Linked DNA regions of Homo sapiens: region 1 is linked to region 2. The links are contacts of gene promoters, found by promoter capture Hi-C in human tissues and cell types (Jung and others, 2019). All regions are on one chromosome and are shown on one strand. The core of a region is centred on a gene start or on the middle of the fragment in contact, and the rest is flanking DNA. Distances in the headings are between cores, read along the strand shown. Region 1 overlaps PAX5 (paired box 5). Region 2 holds the start of TOMM5 (translocase of outer mitochondrial membrane 5).

Region 1 (2,700 bases), core at 161-2,660, 570 kb before region 2:
GTGTGAAGATCTCAATGTAAACGAAATGGGCACAACTTATTATGTGATGCTGAGGTCTAAGGAAGATCCTGGGGAGAAAATATGCATTAAAATACATCATATTTAAAGAGGAAAAAAATAAAACTCGTTTCCTTTTAACAAATGTCTTTAAAAGTGAAAAGAACAACTCCAATAAACTTATATCTCAGGGAATTTTGTTTTTAATCAGCAATCTAATTCAAGGGCTAAGGAATTTTTTAAAAATTTAACAGCACCTGCAGAGTACTGAGAAAAAAAAACAACCATTGCCTTGTTTAAAACCCTCCCTTTAAGAAGGTGAGGTTGACATGCAGACTTGACCACTGTACCTTCTCAAAGCACACAAAAGAAATGGGTCATAGCATCTTCTACACACAGCACATTCCACTCCACTGCACGGGGATTTGTTATAAAGGAGTTTCCCTGGAATTTTTACAATGTTTTGCAATTGACATATAGCTTTATTTTGGTCCAGGGAAAATAAAGAAACCTACAAAAGCCTCTGGATCCCAGGTTTTACAAGGGTCCTGGGATAGATTTTAAGTAAAAGGAGCCCGAGAAAGTGCCTCCTCCACCCTTCTCTTACATCAAGGTCCATCTGGAAGGACACAAGGACTCAAGTAAATGAAGAGCCAAACCAGTAAACACAGAGTGATCCGATGCAGCAACATCATTGACCTTATAGCTGTTAATTAGTCACTCACTGACGTTGCTGAAGACTGGAGCCCAAAGCCAAGTCAAAGCATTTATTGATGTTGCTGGCAGCTCAGAGGCAAAGGAAGGGGAAACTCCTCCTGAACCAAGACTGGACTAGGACTGGACCGTACAAGGGAAAGACCTCAAAGGTCTCACACACATATATACTCAACTCTAAAATATGAAATAGCCACCTCATCTCAGCTATTTCTCCCCAGTACTAAACTACAACCCAGGTTCATGAACCTCATCTGAAATAAAGGGAGCAAAAACCCCCATAATATAATGTATTTCCTAAAAACTGTCCAAGCAATCCACTCAAGTTTCCCATGAATATTTCCCAAAAACGTCCAGGCTCAGGCTTATTTCAAGGAAAAACACAATTTTATAGATAACTGAAGTACTTAGTTGCAGTTCTAAGCTGGATTTCTGATTTTCAAAATGATCTTTATTCAGTTTTGATTGTTCTAAAAGACATAAGAAAAAGGAAAACCATTCCAAATAGGATTTTGCAGTTAGAAACATAATTGCATAGTTTTTCTAAAACAGAAAGACTGCAGCCACCCTGGCCAAGAGCCTTCAGAAGGCTTTGTTCTGGGGCTGGGAACACCTATTTAAAAAGGTTGTACAGATCTTTCAAGAGCAGGCTGGATTTAAGTAAAAGAAAATAAATTCAAAATTGGTATAAGCTCATCTGGGAAAACAAAGGGCAGGCAAAGGAAGCTTAAACACCCAGCACACTTTTGATATGACCTGGGAGTCCAGGTATTATGGTCCATCTGCAATAGCCTGTTCTCTATGTCACTGACAATTGAGACTTTCTGCCCAAAACACAGTGGCAACCTTCAGAGGACTTAAATTCCAAAAGCAGTCCTGCAGGACATTTATGAGCACTGGGGGCTGTTTTGTATCATGGGAAAACCCTAAAGGTCTCCTAGAGCCAGGTCTCTCAAGGTGAGAGCAGGTCCCCAAACCCTCTACCCTTGACCACATAGGCTGAGATAGTAATGCTCTTTCACAATCTCATCTATAGGTCCACAGCTGACAACAGACTTGGGGTGACCTGGGAGCCTGTTACCTTCCTCAACTTCCTTGAAAGGTCCCCAAGACCCCTTGGCCTTCTCCACCATCACAATCCTACCCAATAGAGCTCTTAGAGGGTGGTGGTGAGAAGGTTTACAACTATGGTGTGAGGAAGGTCACTTACTCTGGAATTGGTAAGAAGTGAAGTCCAAAGTCTGAATGAGGCGAGGCAGGACAGGGAAAGAAAAGAGGAAAAAAGAGGTGTGTTAAGAGAAGTGTAAAGAGTGGGAACTGAATGAGACAGACAACCAGGAGAGAGAGAGCCTGGAAAGGAAGCAGCAGGTTAGGCAGGCAGAGGAGAGGGAAAAGGAATGGAGAAGCTAGAATAGGCCAAGAAAAGAAAGACGAAGGTGGCACACAACGGGAGGCAATAAGAAGAGAAAATGGAGGAAGCCCAGGAAGGGGCTTCTGGAGGACAGGGGACTTCTCTAGACAGAGGACCTTTGTTTTCTGGGGTGCCAGCTCTGGCCCTGCATCTTCTTGGAGAACCCAAGTCCCAGCCTGTACTTCCTATGGACTCCAGTTAGGTGAGGACTCATCCCGTGAAAGGGGGACTGACACAGAGACAGAGGCAAACAAATCAGGTGAAGACCAGGAAACAGACCCACAGATACAAGAAAAAGACAGACCACAGGACAGGGCAGACTGGGCAGTGTTTGGAGGGGAGTGAGGAGAGAAAGACTGAATTGCAGAGGCCCCTGAGGCCTTTGTGACTCTGGTATGGAAAGGGCTGGCCTCCACAGATGCTCCTCAGGCCCTGATAAGGTCATGCTACCCACCACAGGCCCTCCCAATACCCCCAAAGACCATGGCTGAGCATAGGATTTTGGGGAAAGGGACTTTGCTGACTCAGCCACAGATTGAGCTCCAGGACCCCCACAAGATCATTAAAATTTTTCCTAG
Region 2 (2,700 bases), core at 29-2,528:
AACTAATGACTCACTTCACCCTCTATACAAAGAAACAGAAATGAAGCAAAACTTTTTGGATTTCAAAGGTCAGCACTTTTGAAAGGGAAGGAACCCGGCCGCTGGTTCACGCCTGTAATCCCAGCACTTTGGGAGGCTGAGGCAGGTGGATCACCTGAGGTCAGGAGTTCGAGACCGGCCTGGCCAACATGGTTAAACACCCATCTCTACTAAAAATACAAAAATTAGCCGGGCGTGGTGGCGCGCGCCTGTAATCTCAGCTACTTGGGAGGCTGAGGTGGGAGAATGGCTTGAACTCGGGAGGCAGAGGTTGCAGTGAGCCAAGACTGCGCCACTGCACTCCAGCCTGGGCAACAGGGCGTGACTGTGTATCGAGGAAAAAAAAAAAAAAGAAAAGAAAAGAAAGGGAAGGAACCTGGTACTGAGTTAAGAGTTCTGGATTTTAGGTCAAGATCATTCACTGAATCGCTGAGTGACCTTTGGCCAGCCTTCCCAAGAAGGCTGTTTCTTCCTTCTAGAACTATGGTTCTGTTTCTCTGTTTCTCTGTCTGCAAAAACGAGGGAGTTCCTCTAGGGATAATTACTTGAGCTCTTTCAGCTCAAACATTCTTTTTTTTGAGATGGAGTCTTGCTCTGTCACTCAAGCTGGAGTGCAGTGTCGCGATCTCGGCTCACTGCAACCTCCGCCTCCTGGATTCAAGCAATCCTCCCACCTTAGCCTCCCGAGGAGCTGGGATTACAGGCGCCCGCCACCACGAACTCCTGACCCCAAATGATCCGCCCGCCTCGGCTTCACAAAGTGCTGGGTGGGATTACAGGTGTGAGCCAACGCGCCCGGCAGCTCAAACATTCTTCAAGCTGGGAGAACCAGGATGATTAAACACGCGCGCCGGCCACCACGTGCACTTCAGTGCCCGGACCCTGACCCGCAGACCTCAAACCGCGCATATGCCCGTCGCCTTCAACGCGCACCCTCCTTGCTCCCCGCTACCGTTCAGCTCAGTTCGAAGGCCCCGATGACCCCTTAGAGTTAAGGGGTGCCCGTCGGTGAGCTCCCCGCTGGTCTCACAGTCACAGCCCGGGAGACACTCACTGACTCGCAGGAGGGCCACGTAGATGAGAAAGTTCCGTATGGAGGAGATCACATCCTCGCGCATCTTCCGTTTCATCTCCTCCGGGTCCAGCTTCGGCGCGAGGCCCTCAATCCGGAACATCGCGGCTCTGACTTAGCAGCTTCCAGCCGCCGCGCTCTGCTCTCCACGGTGGCCGCCTCGCGCCCGGAACTCGGCCTATCCTCACTTCCTGTTCCCGCCCTCTCGTTGCCACACTCGACGATGGATGCCTGCACGGGACAATCCACGTCCTGACCCAGCTGATCTGAAGTGCGGTGTGAAGCGGGCGGCCGCAAGCTCAGCAACGCAGGCTCTGGTTTCTCCACGCTGTCTTTAATAACATCTGTCATACAAAAATCAGCCCGGCTCGGTGGCGCGTGCTTACAATCCCAGCTACTCGGGAGGCTGAGGCAGGAAAATCGCTTGAACCCAGGAGGGGGATGTTGCAGTTAGCCGAGATCGCGCCACTGCGCTCCAGCCTGGGCGACAGAGCGAGCGAGACTCCGTCTCAAAATAATAATAATAATAATAATAATAACAACAACAATAACATCTATCTTGAGCCTGGAGCGCTGCGCTGTAAAGTGCTTTTACGCGCTGGAGGGGGCTGTGCACATAGGTACCACTGTAAACAGTGATAACTAACATTTATTGAATATTCAATATAATTGTCCCCCGTGAATTCGATATTATAATCTTCGTTTCCTAGATTAGACAATTGAAGCACAGAGATCTTTAAAACATCTTGCCCAAATGTGCTTTAATTTTTATTTATTTTTTTATTGCTAATTGTGGTGGTTGAGACTGTTCTGGAACTCCTGGGTTCCAGGATCCAAGCGATCCTCCCGCCTCGGCCTCCCAAAGTGCTGGGATTACAGGCGTGAGCTATCGCGCCTGGCCCCCAAATGTGCTTAAAAATACCTCAGAGGGGGAAAAAAGTATTGAGAGAGATAAGTGATGTCAGCAAAATATTAAAAACTGCTGGTGACTAGTACTTCATTTTAGTTAATTATTCTAGTCTTTCTTGAGTATGTTTGAAACTTTACATAAGTTAAAACAAAGAGACAAAGATGAAACTTTTTTTTTTTTTTTTTTTTTTTTGGAGACAGAGTCTCGCTCTGCCGCCCAGGCTGGAGTGCAGTGGCGCAATTTCAGCTCACTGCAACCGCTGCTTCCCAGGTTCAAGTGATTCTCCTGCCTCAGCCTCCTGAGTAGCTGGGATTACGGTTGCGCAGCACCACGCCTGGCTAAATTTTGTATTTTTTGTAGAGACGCGGTTTCACCATGTTGGCCAGGCTGGTCTTGGAAACTCCTGATCTCAGGTGATCTGCCCACCTCGGCCCCCAAAAGTGCCGTGATTACAGGCATGAGCCACCGCACCTGGCCTTTTTACAGATTATTGAAGCACAGAGGTCTTTAAAATACTGTTAGCCAAGTAACACAATATGTATAAAGCAAGTTCAAATCTGATCAGCATTTTACAGATGAATAGAAAGAGGCTCAGAAACCAAGTCCAGCTTTGGTGTGAAGCCCTTTATCTGGAACATCGCAGCTGAAGTCTAAAGTGCACTAAAGTCTAGTCATTCTG

What was found. The method cuts DNA at HindIII sites, captures the fragments that hold promoters and counts their contacts. A contact is called where the count stands out against the background at its distance.
Region 1: a contact is called between a fragment that was not itself captured here and the fragment with the promoter of TOMM5 in region 2, in 1 of the 25 tissues and cell types used here (mesenchymal stem cells).

What each region holds. Positions count from the first base shown.
Region 1 is chr9:37,021,086-37,023,785 of GRCh38, forward strand. The region is part of intron 1 of PAX5 (paired box 5); the gene reads right to left. Among named protein-coding and RNA genes, the nearest start is that of PAX5, 12 kb to the right of the region's middle. RefSeq lists a silencer at 1,703-1,752. The HindIII fragment of the contact is 4,288 bases long and covers 1-2,700 here.
Region 2 is chr9:37,591,319-37,594,018 of GRCh38, forward strand. TOMM5 (translocase of outer mitochondrial membrane 5) reads right to left here and starts at 1,279. Exons shown (of 2, transcript NM_001001790.3): 1 at 1,094-1,279. The coding sequence starts at 1,214. RefSeq lists an enhancer at 876-1,635 and a silencer at 2,594-2,700. The HindIII fragment of the contact is 28,692 bases long and covers 1-2,700 here.